Regions from separate parts of the Homo sapiens genome. Here all the other regions are linked to region 3. The links are contacts of gene promoters, found by promoter capture Hi-C in blood cells and fetal thymus (Javierre and others, 2016). All regions are on one chromosome and are shown on one strand. Each heading gives the region's core, a stretch centred on a gene start or on the middle of the fragment in contact. The rest is flanking DNA. Distances are from core to core; before and after follow the strand shown.

Evidence for each region. The method cuts DNA at HindIII sites, captures the fragments that hold promoters and counts their contacts. A CHiCAGO score of 5 or more calls a contact.
Region 1: a contact is called between a fragment that was not itself captured here and the fragment with the promoter of WHRN in region 3, in 3 of 17 cell types (neutrophils, total B cells and naive B cells). The highest score is 8.3, in neutrophils.
Region 2: a fragment that was not itself captured here is called in contact with the fragment with the promoter of WHRN in region 3 in 4 of 17 cell types (naive CD4 T cells, naive B cells, total B cells and 1 more); the score reaches 5.5 in naive CD4 T cells.

Annotation. Positions count from the first base shown.
Region 1 is chr9:114,674,252-114,678,893 of GRCh38, reverse strand. The region is part of intron 1 of TEX48 (testis expressed 48); the gene reads left to right. Among named protein-coding and RNA genes, the nearest start is that of TEX48, 5.6 kb to the left of the region's middle. The HindIII fragment of the contact is 1,170 bases long and covers 2,425-3,594 here.
Region 2 is chr9:114,349,285-114,354,022 of GRCh38, reverse strand. It overlaps AKNA (AT-hook transcription factor), which reads left to right. Exons shown (of 22, transcript NM_001317950.2): 15 at 3,002-3,164. Among named protein-coding and RNA genes, the nearest start is that of ORM2, 22 kb to the right of the region's middle. The HindIII fragment of the contact is 3,998 bases long and covers 1-3,953 here.
Region 3 is chr9:114,503,113-114,507,571 of GRCh38, reverse strand. WHRN (whirlin) reads left to right here and starts at 2,099. Exons shown (of 12, transcript NM_015404.4): 1 at 2,099-3,388. The coding sequence starts at 2,771. RefSeq lists a silencer at 2,005-2,304 and enhancers at 1,829-2,719, 2,720-3,610. The HindIII fragment of the contact is 12,008 bases long and covers 1-4,459 here.

The sequences.
Region 1 (4,642 bases), core at 1,760-4,259, 170 kb before region 3:
CTTAAACATTTTCCCCATTGTTGAAGGTCAACAATTTTTTTTTTTTTTTTTTTTTGAGTCAGGATCTCCTGTTGCCTGGGCTGGAGTGCAGTGGCATGATTATAGCTCACTGAAGTCTTGATTTCTCAAATTCAAGCAATACTCTCTCCTCAGCCTCTGAGTAACTGGAAGTGCAAGTGCACACCACCATGCCCAGCTAAATTTTAATTTTTAGTAGAGATGAGGTATGTTGTCCAGGCTGGTCTCAAACTCCAAAACTCAAGCAATCTTCCTGTCTCAGCCTCCCAAAGTGCTGGGATTACAGGTGTGAGCCACTGTGCCTGGCCTAAAGGTCAACAACGAAATGAACTAATTGGTACAAATATGATAGTCCAAGACAATAAGTAACGAACAGAATCCTGAATTACACAGGATATACAAAACAAACTTTCTTTTGTTCTGAAATTTGGGAAGATTCTATTTTTACCCAACTCAACTCTTACTCAGAGTTTAAATTCGGCCTCTCTTGATCTACCTTCAGTGCAGAAGTTTTAGGTGGGTGTTGTGCAATGTGATTGTTCTTCTCTAGAAAAATGCTCCCTGAAAAAGTTTATTTGGGCAGCCAGGGGAAGGAGTAAGAGGAGTATACGTGGGTAGTAAAGATCAAGTTGGGTGGAGAGAGAAAGACAGAAGCAAAGAAAACAGGTGTCAGAAGGTTTGAGTAAGAGTAAGGTCTTTTTTATCTTTTTCTTCCTGAGGCCATAGCATTCCAGACAAAGAAGCCTTCTATTTATGTTTGGCATTTTTGTCTTCTCTCTTCTCTAGAGCTCCTCTTAAATCTGATTTTTGACATCAAAACTTTGTCATCATGGCTACAGTAATCCTAAGTCATCTAGTGAACTTTTGCCATTTATTAAGACAAATACATGAGAGTACCTATAGTGAGAGTATATATACGGAGTTTTTCCAGGAAGAGGCAACAACCTTAATGCAGATGAGACCACGACAAGCAGGAAAGAGCACGCTACAATTGATAAACAGTTTCTACTTGTGCAGTGTCTTGAATTTCTTGACCAAGCAGAGCCTAAAAGAGGCCACATGATCAAAAACCTGAAAATTACTGACTCCCGAATATAAGCTAAAAAAAAAAAGTGACCTTCTTTTATGATTTACCAAGACAGAACACATGCTGACAAAGGTTTAGAGGGACCCAAGTCCAGGTTTTAGCAATTTCTTCTAGACAAATCAATTACCACTCCAGTAAAACTCCAGACACTCAGGGCTGACTCATGGTGGGGGCTTGTCAGAGCTATGCTTCCATTCCTTTCTTATGAAGTGCATCCTTCTACATTCAACATACACAAGGCAGTCTGGAACAAAGCCAAACCCCGTGAGGCAAGCATTTTTATAAGTGGATGAAGACAACTGAAACTAAAGCAAGTAGCAGAATACGAAGCAGATTAATGGCAAGGATATTTGCTAAATGGTGTATCTCCAAAACAAAAGATCTAACTGCCTGTATAAATTTCTATTTCTTTATAAATTATAGGAAAATGAAATAAATCCACTAAAGAGAACTCAATGAAATACATCAGAGCTAAAATCATGTTAAAAAAAAAAAATCCCATGACACTGACACTAGGTCTAGGGAAAAACAAAAAAACAAACAAACAAACAAAAACACCTCACCTGGCAGCAGATCCAAAAGACTATTGGAGATTGGAGCTAAATGGACCTAGTGAGTGCCCCCACTTTGACCAAAAAATCCACACAATGGTGACATCTGTATGTGTCTAGCCCGCATCGTATCTAACCACAAGGAACAGCTTATGTGCAGAAAGTTAAAAATCAGTTAGTGGAAGGGAGGAAGGAGATCTGTTTGGCATAGTTTTTTTCCAACAGTCAGAGAAGGTTCATGTGTTTATTCAACAAATATGTATAAAGTACCTATTCTGTGCCCATCCCTGGGCTGAGTGCTGAGGATACAAAAGTGAATAAAGGCCAGGCGCGGTGGCTCACGCCTGGAATCCCAGCACTTTGGGAGGCCGAGATGGGCAGATCACTAGGTCAGGAGATCGAGACCATCCTGGCTAACACAGTGAAACCCCGTCTCTACTAAAAATACAAAAAATTAGCCAGGCGTGGTGGCAGGTGCCTGTAGTCCCAGCTACTCGGGAGGCTGAGGCAGGAGAATGGCGTGAACCCGGGAGGCGGAGCACGAAGTGAGACAAGATTGCGCCACTGTACTCCAGCCTGGGCAACAGAGCGCGACTCCATCTCAAAAAAAAAAAAAAGTGAATAAAATACTGTCCCTGCTTCCATGGACATTTGTCTATCCTGTGTCTTGTTCACTGCTATATCTCCAGCACCTAACAGTACCTGGAACATGGCAGGTTTTCAGTAAATACATGTGAAATAAATGAAGAAAAAAAAAAGAAAAAAGCTTGGCTGGGCTCAGTGTCTCAAGCCTATAACCCAGCACTTTTGGAGGCTGAGGCAGGAGATCTCTTGAGCTAAGGAATTCGAGATAAGCCTGGGCAATACGGCAAAATCCCATCTCTACCAAAACAAAAACAAAAAAACTATAACCGGGCATGGTAGTGCGAGCCTGTAGTCCAAGCTACTCAGGAGGCTGAGGCAGGGAAATCGCTTGCACCTGGGAGGATGAGGCTGGAGTGAGCCCTGATGGTGCCACTACAGTCCAGCACGGGTGTCAGAGTGAGACCCTGTCTCAAAAAATAAAAAAAGAAAAGAAAAAGAAAAAGGAAAAAGCTCATGAACTAGTATCCAGACTGTCAACAAGAGGCAGTTACAAGACAACGTTTCAACAAGTGTTTATTAAGCATTTACCATGAGTTAGGCAGTCACTGTACAATAACAGGCTGTGTACAGGAAAACATGGTGGGCCAGCAGGGGAGTGCTGTGGGAGCACAAGGGAGGGACTCCTAACTTATCCCATGCCTTCCTGTAGCCCCTGAGCTGAATCCTGGAGTTTGATGACTCAAGGATTGAGGTGAGAACATCCCAGGTAGAGGGAACAGGATGTGAACAGGGTCCATTCAGTAAAAGGTGATTGGGGAAGCTGCCTATACAGCATCTCTTATGGCTGTAGGGCGGTGAGTGCAACCCAGAGAAGATGAGGATGAAGAGAATAACAGTGGTGATCACAAAAGGAGTTGGATCTGCAGACTTGGGGACCCCCTTGGTGGGGCAGAGGGTTGTTGGGGCAGAAGAGAGATAGGATTTACATGTCTACCAGATAACTCTAGCTTTAGGTGGAGGCAAACAAACCAATGAGAAAGTTTAAGCAGTGGTCCAGGTGAGAAGTGATGGTGGCTTACACTACGGTGAAGGAAATGGCAAAGGATTGGCTGGGCAGACAGACTGAAGAGATATTTGGAAAGTAAAGTTCAAAGACTGATGAACACGAGCAGATGGCAGGAGGCTGGCAGGCTTCTGACTCTAGAGACAGAGTGAATAATAGGATCATCCCACGAAATAGGGAACATGGGAAGAAGATAGATATGCTTTGCAGTGGACAGGGAAGAAAAATAGTCCCAACCAGTAAACAGAGAGCAGAACTAAAATTGACTCATGAAACCATCAGAGTAAGCTTAGCATGTGAATGAGGTAAGCTGTGTCCTACAGCTTGTGATGTTCCTGGCACAAAAACTACCACCCACCTCTCTACTGCCCCCAGGGCCTGCAAGTGCTTTTACTCAAGACAAGAATAAATGCTAGTTTATTCTACAAACACCCTCAATTTTTATTCTACAAACAATTATTGACTTCCCACACTGCACTAGGTACTGCTCTAGACACTGAGAATAGAGCAGTAAACCAAACAGCTAAAATCCATGACCTCATGTGACTTCTAATTTAGTGGGAAGAAGCAGACCTTCAACACAGTAATTTAGCAAATTATGTAGAGTGTTAGGAAATGAAGCTGGGCACGGTGACTCACACCTGTAACCCCAGCACTTTGGGAGGCCAACATGGGAGGATCACTTGATTTCAAGACCAGCCTGAGCAATACAGTGAGACCCCTTCTCTTAAAAAAAAAAAAAAAAAAGAATTTGCTGGACATGGTGGCATGCACCTGTAGTCCCAGCTACTCAGGAGGCTGAGGCAGGAGGAGCCCAGAAGTTCAAGGCTGCAGTGAACCATGATTGTGCCACTGCACTCCAGCCTGAGCATAGAGCTAGACCCTGTCAAGAAAGAGAGTGAGAGCAAGAGAGAAGGAAAGAAGGAAGGAAGGAAGGAAGGAAGGAAGGAAGGAAGGAAGGAAGGAAGGAAGGAAGGAAGGAAGGAAAGAAAAAGAGAAAAGAGAAAAAAAGAAAGAAAAGAAAAAAAGAAGAAAAAGAGAGAAAGAAAGAAGAAAAAAGAAAGAGAAAATGTTTGAAAAGTAAACAAGGAAGAGATTAGGAAGTGCTGGGGTGCTGGGCAAGGGGGTTATAATGTTAAATACAACAGAGAAAGTCTCACTAGAAAAGGTGAAGCAAAGACTTGAAGGTAATGACAGAATGTTGTTATCTAAGAGAACTGAATTCCAGGCAGAGAGTAAAACAAGCACAAATTGTTGAGTTGGGAGCTTGCTGTGTTTTAAAACTCAGCAGGGGGGGCAAATGGAATTGGGGAATTGGAGGAATTGAAGACAGAGTTG
Region 2 (4,738 bases), core at 705-3,204, 150 kb after region 3:
AAGAAAAAACTTTTGTATAAATGTTGTAAATTTAGCCTAAGTGTATGGTGTTTATAAAGTCTACAGCAGTGTACAGTAATGTCCTAGGCCTTCACATTCACTCACCACTCACTCACTGACTCACCCAGAGCAACTTCCAGTCCTGCGAGCTCCATTCATGGTAAGGACCCTTTACAGGTGTACCATTTTTAAAATCTTTTATACCATATTTTTATGGTCTGTTTTCTATGTTTAGATACACAAATACTTACCATTGTGTTACAGATACCTACAGTATTCAGCAGGCAATGTTGTAGAGGTTTGTAGCCTACAATAATGGGCTATTCCATCTACCTCACATATGTAATAGGTGTGGGTAATCTATGATGTTTGTGACATGGTGAAACAGAATAACAATGTGTTTCTGGGAGCTTATACCCAATATTAAGTGATGCGTGACTATACTTAAAACAGAAATGAGGCTGGGCACGGTGGCTCACGCCTGTAATCCTAACACTTTGGGAGGCTGAGGCGGGTGGATCACCTGAGGTCAGAAGCTCAAGACCAGCCTGGCCAACATGGCAAAACCCCATCTCCACTAAAAATACAAAAATTAGCCAGACGTGGTGGCTGGCACCTAAAATCCCAGCTACTCAGGAGGCTGAGGCAGGAGAATGGCTTAAACCCGGGGGCGGAGGTTGCAGTGAGCTGAGATTGCGCCACTTCACTTCAGCCTGGGCGAAAGAGCAAAACTCCATCTCAAAAAACATAAAAAAAAAAAACAAAAAATAAGATCATTTTATATGTGAATATTTGGCGACCTCCTTTTTTCACTAAATTGTACTATAAACACTTTCCATGTCTATGAAATCTATATGTGATTCAGTTTTTGACCTTTAGAAATACACATGAATTATTTATTGAAATTAAAAACCACCAAAAAGAACTTAAATTGATGAGTTTTTACAAGGTGAACAGACACCAAGAAACTCAGTATGATCTGAACCCCAGAACCTCACTGAAGTCCCATTTAGTCACTACCTGCTTCCCAAACATAACCACTGTTCTGACTTCTGACACCTCAGATTAGCTTTGCCTAAAAGGTTCATCTTTTTTTTTTTTTGAGATGGAGTCTCGCTCTGTTGTCCAGGCTGGAGTGCAATGGTGCACTCTCTGCTCACTGCAACATCCACCTCCCGGGTTCAAGAGATTCTCCTGCCTCAGCCTCCTGAGAAGCTGGGATTATAGGCACGCGCCACCACGCCTGGCTAATTTTTGTATTTTTAGTGGATATGGGGTTTCACCATGTTGGTCAGGCTGGTCTCGAACTCCTGACCTTGTGACCCGCCCGCCTCGGCCTCCCAAAGTGCTGGGATTACCGGCATGAGCCACCACGCCCAGCTGGTTCATTATTTTAAAAACGTTTTTAATTAAACTTTTTTTTTTTGAGATGGAGTCTCACTCTGTCCCCCAGGCTGGTATGTAGTGGTACGATCTCAGCTCACTGCAACCTCCACCACTCAGGTTCAAGTGATTCTCCAGCCTCAGCCTCGCGAGTAGCTGGGACTACAGGTATGCACCACTGCGTCCAGCTAATTTTTGTATTTTTAGTAGAAATGGGTTTCACCATGTTGGCCAGGCTAGTCTCAAACTCCTGACCTCAAGTGATCCGCCCGCCTCAGCCTCCCAAAGTGCTGGGATTATAGGTGTGAGCCGCCACGCCCGGCCTTTAATTAAACTTTTTATTTGGAGATAATTGTAGATTCACATGCAGTTATAAGAAATAATACACAGAGATCCCATGTGCCTTTACTCAGTTTTCCCCAGTGAGACTATCTTGCAAAACTGTAGTACAATGTCACAGCCAGATGTTGACATTGATGCAGTCAAGATACAGAACGTTCCATCACCACAAGGAGCCTCATGCTACCCTTTCATAGGCACACCCACTTCCCTCCTGCCCCCAGCCTGTCCTTAACCCCTGGTAAGCACTAATCTGTTCTCCATTTCTATAATTTTATCATTTCAAGAATGTTCTATAAATAGAATCATATACTATGTAACCTTTTGGGATTGGCTTTTCACTCAGCATAATTCTCTGGAGATTTATCTAGATTATTCTGTGTATTAATAGTTAGCTCCTTTATATATTGCTGAGTAGTATTCCAAGGGTTTCATTGCTTTTATTTTTTATTTATTTCTTTATTGTTTTTGAGACAGGGTCTTGCTCTGTCACCCAGGCTGCAGTGCAGTGTCGCCATTATGGCTCACTGCAGCCTTGTCCTCCCTGGCCCAAGCGATCCTCCTGCTTCAGCCTCCCAAGTAGCTGGGACCAAAGGGGCATACTTCCACATCCAGCTAATTTTTTTATATATATAATTTTTTTTTTTTTTTGCAAAGATGGGGTCTTTCTATATTACCTAGGCTAGACTCAAACTTCTGGGCGCAAGCAATCCTCCCGTCTCAGCCTCCCAGAGTGCTGGGATTACAGGCGTGAGCCACCATGTCTGGCCAGTTCATTGCTTTTAATGCAGGGGACGGATTAGTGGTTTTTAACCTTTGGTCACCCATCCCTTTGGGAGATTCGTTAAAAGTTATTAATGCTCTCCCCAGAAACATGCATACGTGGAAAGAGGTGACTATAATTTCAGAGGAGGCTCTGAAGCCAGCCCCACAAAAACATGGTGAGAAGGTGATCAAGTCTTGAGGAACCCAAGTGAAGAAGTGATTAATTCTTTGCAGGGGAAGTTCCTGAAGACTCGGATGGTGTCATGGTGGGTGGGAGGAGGGGTTCTGGTTAGAAACAGCGGGGCAGGCCCAGCTCAGCACCCCACACTCCCAGCAAAATCTAGATCTTCTGGTTTGGAGGTCAGTGTGGGTCATTGGCCTCATCAGGAACTTCCTTTGTGACCTTGAACTAGGCACCGTCTCTTCACTTCCCCCATCATTCCACCTGCACAAGTGTGAGCTTGGAAGTTCTCTCTGCTTAAACTCACTTTGGGTTCTCTCTCTGCCTCCCTAGCGGTTCCTGGCTCAGAGTTTGAGGGGCACAAACGGATTTCTGAACAGCCCCTTCCCAACAAGACAATCAGCCCACCCCCAGCCCCCGCCCCTGCCGCTGCGCCTCTACCCTGTGGACCAACAGAGACCATCCCCAGCTTCCTGCTCACCAGGGCAGGGCGAGAGTAAGTTAGACACTTGGATCCTGGGGATTCAAGCTCATCATACAGACGGGAGCGTGATGCGACGTGTTAGCAGGTGGAGGTGGAGACCTGCCCAGCTCACACAGATGGTGGTGGTAGGAGCAGACGGACCCAGGTGTCCTGCCTCCCAGTTCCCAGCGTTTCTGTGGGACCTCATTGATCTAGACATCGAGGACACACTTCTCCAGCCAGTGGAATATGACCTAAAGATTCACCTTTCTGGTGCTGACACTTATGCCCTCTCTCTCCATCATCTCTTTTCCGAGAAAAGCCTGTCCTTTCTAGGGCTATCTTTTCTGCAATTTGACCATTGATTGTATGGACCAAGAAGCTACTGCCTTCTGAGTTTTTCTTTTCTTTTTTTGGTTCGTGTGCATTTTTTCTACTAAGAAAGTTCCACTTCCTTGGTTGAACAGAAATGGTAAAATCGCTTGGTCAGTTCTCTCACACCTCCTCTTAGTTGCTTTTGGCCAGTGATCACTTACACACCCTTGCTGGAGTGGGTGTCTGTCCCGGGATGCGCTGGGGAGACTGCTCGGTGGTGGCCCAGCCAAGGTTTCTTTGGCTCGAACAGGCATGAGGCTGTCATGTTGCCTACGTGCAAAGTTGTGTCCAGCTGCTGGTGTTTGGCTTCCTTGTCTGAGTTTAGTAAGTCTACCCCTGCAGCCTCCCCTGACATCAGTGGAGGAATTAGAGGCTTGTTTGTCTAGGGTATGCCAGGCCTTGGGAATACAATAGTGGACAAGACTCTATCCTAGGCCTCTTAAAGCTTACCATCTTGTAGGATGAACAGACAAAGAAACAGGCAGTAGTGCCCTCCATTGTGATAAATACCATGATGGCAGAGGACTAAAGGACTGTGGGAGCACAGCGAAGGAGCATCTGGTCCGGTTAGAGGCTTCAGGGAGGGCTTCCTGGAGGAAGTGGTATCTCAGCAGACATCAGAAGGAAGAGAGATAGAAGAGTATCTTCAGTGGAGGGAATGGCATGTGCAAAGTCCTAAAGGTGAGAGAGTGCCCATCACCTTGGAGGAGCTAAACGGTCAGCCAGATCCTCTAGTGTGAGGGGGTGGAGTGTTGAGCAGTAAAGGAAGAGAGGGGTAGAGAGGAGAGACCTATGGGAGATCCTACAGGGCCTGAAGGCCATGGGTAAGGGGAGACATTCACTGCATATTCCATGAGTGCACAAAGGCTGAGAGGACAGGGAAGGGGATTTTAAGCAGGGACGTAGCGTAGGCAGGTTTATGTTTTAGAGTTCTCTGGCCACCGGCAGGGTGAGAACGGAGACCAAGAGACTGCTGAGAAGGCTGCCACATCCAGGAGAGAGATGATGGGGACTGGGTTCTCGGGGAGGGCCCCTACAGAGGGGAAGAAGGGATTCATTTGGGAAGAGGTATTTTGGAAGTTGGGCCCATGAGACTTGGTAACTAATTAACTTCAGGGATGTTCAGGGAAGGAGGGGATCTAGAGTGACTCAGAGTTCTGTCTGGCTAGTCAGGTAGATGCTGCTGCCATGTGCAGAGACAGGGAAGTAAGTTTGCAGAGAAAGATGAATGT
Region 3 (4,459 bases), core at 850-3,349:
GAAGAAAGTGTTTCTTTTTCTACTAAGACTGCATGCAGCCTGGTTTCTGCTGCCTAAAGCAAAACACCTTCTTGAAAACATCCTTTGCACAGAAATAAAATGTTGGGACTGGGGATCTTAGCTCCTGGGATGCATTTATCAAACCAATCACAGTAATTATAATTAAAACAAACTAAGTGAGAGCTGAGCATGAAACACATTAGCAGGAAACCTGAACTGCATACAATTAAGCCCTGCTTGGTGGCATTTTGAGGTATGTCATTAATACATTTTTGGGGTGGAGAAGATTGATTTTTTTTCCTTAAACATCTTGGTCTAGTTGCATGAAAGGCTTCAACAACAGTTACAAAGGAGGAATAAGGATAGACACCATTAACTGCTAAGATTAGAGCTTTAAGACAGATGGCCAAAGGTAGCCTAATTGGCTATTTTTTAAAAAATCTTCCTCAGACACACTGTTAAATATGTTTATTGGGCATTAATTTAACCTATGTCTGTTTTAGGGAAGTAAAGAATTGAAGATCTTTAGGGAAAACACAGCTTCCATTCCTAGCCTCAATGCATTAAGTCAGCAGTGTTGAAAACCTTTCCACTCTTCCCCATTGTCTAGAGGAGAAAGTCCGTTTTCCTTACAGGTTCTTCATTCAGGTGTCGCCTCTTCAGTAAAGTCCTTACCATATTCTCCTCTCCTAAACCTGGGCTCCCTCGCCATTACAACAGGTATCACACTGGTTTTTAACTCTATTTATTTGATCTTTCTCCCCTGGGTCTCCAGCACCCAGCACATGACCCAGCACAGAGCAGATGCTTCAAAAACGTTGAATGAAAAGCGACCAAATAAATAAATAAATAAATAAATAAATAAATAAATAAATAAATGAATGATCTATCCTTCTGGGTCCACCACAAACCAAATCCTCCAGGTAATCCTCCATCTTGCCCTACCCTGGATAGATGTCAGCTGGCTCTGCAATGGAAATTCTGGAAGACTTTTACGAAAAATACATAGAAGAGTAGCTTAGGAGAGGCAGCTCAGGTTGGAAGGGATGTGTGTGAGGTAGGGTGTGTGTGTGTATGTGTGTGTGTGTGTGTGTAGCACTATGAAGCTCCCCATTAGAATAAAAGCACAGGATTTTACTTAAATCTTATTTGGGGGATTGGGTGGGTGACGACCGACTCCAGGGCACACCTGGGTGTATCTTCCCATTTTGCCTAGGGATGGGAGAGCATAGAAGAGATTTTTCTCCAAGCCACTTCAAATATGTATATTTTTAATTTCTATTTTGAGATTGTAGATCCAAATGCAGTTCTAAGAAATAATACATAGACATGCCATGTACCCTTCACCCAGTTTCCCCCGATGTTGACACGATGGCAACCAGGACATTGACATTGATAAAATCCACCCACCTTACTCAGATTTCACCAGTTTTATATGCGCTCATTTGTACGTGTGTGCGCGAGCGTGGGGTGTACACTTTATATAATATTTCTGAAAGTGGCTTTTCCCTTGCAATGGAGACTGGGAAGGGGTCCAGCCTGATCCATCCCTGCCACGGAGTTGACTCCGGCAGACAGCAGTCTATGCTTGTATTCGTCTCTCGCACACAGTAGGTGGCCAACGACCGTCCACATAAACCCTGGAATTTGTCATGTCAGGGCGCGTGCAGGAGGGGAGCGCCACATTGTAAGGAAGAAAACCGAGACTGAAGTGCCCAGTATTTTGGAAGCAAAAATCAAACAAACAAAAAACTTGACGATTTCCCCCCGAATTGTGAATTAGCTAGCCGGCTAATTACTCCAAAGCGATCCTGGTGTCGGCACTCGCTGCGACCGCCGAAGAGCGCTGTTTCTGAGCCCCGCTCCCGGCTCTGCCGGCGGGGTAGGGGACGCGGGGGCTCCTCCCACCCCTACCGCCGCGTTCACCCCTTTCTTCCCTGGGGCTGGACTGTTTCACCCCGTCTCCAGGCAACGGCCAGGCGCACCGGGCGGGACGTCATTTCCTGAGGAGCCCGTGGGGAGGGGGCGGGCAGGAGGAGGGACGAGGGGGCGGGGCCCGGGCCGGGCTGGCAACGAGACGGCGTCGGAACTCGCTGGAAGACTCGGCCCGGGTGGCTCAACAGTTCGCAAAGTCCGGGCTTGCGGCCGGGCGGCGCAGAGGCGCGGAGGCTCCCCGGGCGGCTGCATCCCGGGGCTGCCCCGGACATGCCCCGCACCCCTTGTCGGACGCCCGCGCCGCTTCACCGGCTGCCACTCCCCGGAGTGCTCTGGGACTAGAGCGCCCTCCGCCCCAACTTCTGACTTTGGGGTCCCCCAGCCCTAGAGGAACGGGCGCCCGGCTGGGGGAGCCCCGGGCATGGTGTGACGGGGCAGTCAGGTCAGCTTTGCGGCGCCCCCAAACTCCAGCCACCCGTCGTCTCCGTGCCCTCCAGAATGTAGCTGCTGACCCCGCGCCCCCCGGACTCCAGCAGCAGTCTCCGCCACCTCCGGGCTCCAGCAGCCAACTCTTGTGTCTCTCAGGAACCCGCCGACGTCTCCGCGTCCCCCGGATTCCAGGTTCGCGACCCCCGCCGTCTTCGCGCCTCCGGGACTCTAGCAGCGGTCTCCGCGACCCCCTAGGATCCAGCCACTGTACCCGTGCTCCCCAAACCCAGGCTCCAGCCGTCGTCTCCGCGCTCCCGGGGATCCAGCTGTCGCGCCAGTACCCGCGAGGACAGCGGCACCGCCCACACCCCGCGCGCTCAGAGCCCGGCCGGGCCTCGGCGTGGAGATGAACGCGCCGCTGGACGGCCTGTCGGTGAGCTCGTCCTCCACCGGCTCGCTGGGCTCGGCGGCCGGGGCGGGCGGCGGCGGGGGCGCGGGGCTGCGGTTACTGTCTGCCAACGTGCGCCAGCTGCACCAAGCGCTGACCGCGCTGCTGAGCGAGGCGGAGCGGGAGCAGTTCACCCACTGCCTGAACGCTTACCACGCGCGCCGCAACGTCTTCGACCTGGTGCGCACCCTGCGCGTGCTGCTGGACAGTCCGGTCAAGCGGCGCCTGCTGCCCATGCTTCGTCTGGTCATCCCGCGCTCCGACCAGCTGCTCTTCGACCAATACACGGCCGAGGGCCTCTACCTGCCCGCCACCACCCCCTACAGGCAGCCCGCCTGGGGCGGCCCCGACAGCGCGGGGCCAGGGGAGGTGCGCCTGGTGAGTTTGCGGCGTGCCAAGGCCCACGAGGGCTTGGGCTTCAGCATCCGTGGGGGCTCGGAGCACGGCGTGGGCATCTACGTGTCTCTGGTGGAACCAGGCTCTCTAGCTGAGAAGGAAGGACTGCGGGTCGGGGACCAGATTCTGCGCGTCAACGACAAATCCCTGGCCCGGGTGACCCACGCGGAGGCCGTCAAGGTAAGGCTGTGGTTTGGAGAGAGTCTGGGGCAGAGTATGGACAGAGTGGCACAGCTTTTTCAGTAACTCCATGCTGTGTGTCCTTAGATGAATCACTTGGCCTTTCTGGGCTTTTTTTTTTTTTTTAATACTTTAAAACAGGAATGTATAGCTTACAGAGCAAATAGCTCTCAGGCACTGGGAACGTAGTTCTGCACAGACATGGCCCTTGCCTTTGTGAGGCTTAAAAGCTAGTGCAGGTGATAGTAACAAATACTTGAGCAAATGTGTGGTTACAATGTGTGAATAGGGCTGTGGATTCTTATGAGCATTAAAAGAGATAAAATCTCTGCTTGGCATAATTAGGTGGCCTTTGCTACTGCCATTCTGTGGTTTTTTGTTTTTTGTTTTTCCCTGAAACAGTTTTGTTAGCTCTTAAGTGGCCTGAGGAGGCCGTTTGTGTGATCCACAGTGCACTGGCTTGACGCTGCTGTTTTTGGACCAGGTTGTGTATCCTGAAGCAAGTCACTTGCCCTCTCAGGACCTCTTGTTCTCCACTTGGAAAATGGGGCCACTGGACCAAATAAGCGGTCCCTAACCTTTTTGGAAATGAGACTCCTGCCTGAATGTAAAAAATAAATTCCCTAGCCCCTGAGAGTGTTTGTCCTTTCTGCCATTTGTTAATTGAGAAATATAACCTCATGACAACAGGCTTCCAGGGATTTAATCATGCTTTTTAAAGGAGTGTGTGTGCTTACTGATCTACAGCCCAGGGCTACTGAAAACCAGTTGGAGTATGATGGATAGTGTTGGGTCCAGGGTGGATTCATGGATCCTTTGCAGGCATTTTTCCCCCTTCCCCCCTCCCCCGACCTCCTTTGCGTACAAGAAGTGAAGAGTTTGGGGGAAAAGGGACACATGCTCTGCTTCTGCAGAGAAATGCTTCTCAGGGGGTTGGACTGTTCTGTAAACCCCCACTCCCCGCCAGCGCAGGTGTTTTGAACTCCAGCTGAGGGCCTGCTGGCTGCTGGGAAACTCCTAGGCAGCAGAGGCCCACGACTACTTCCTCCTGAGTGCCGTTCAGTGGCCTGT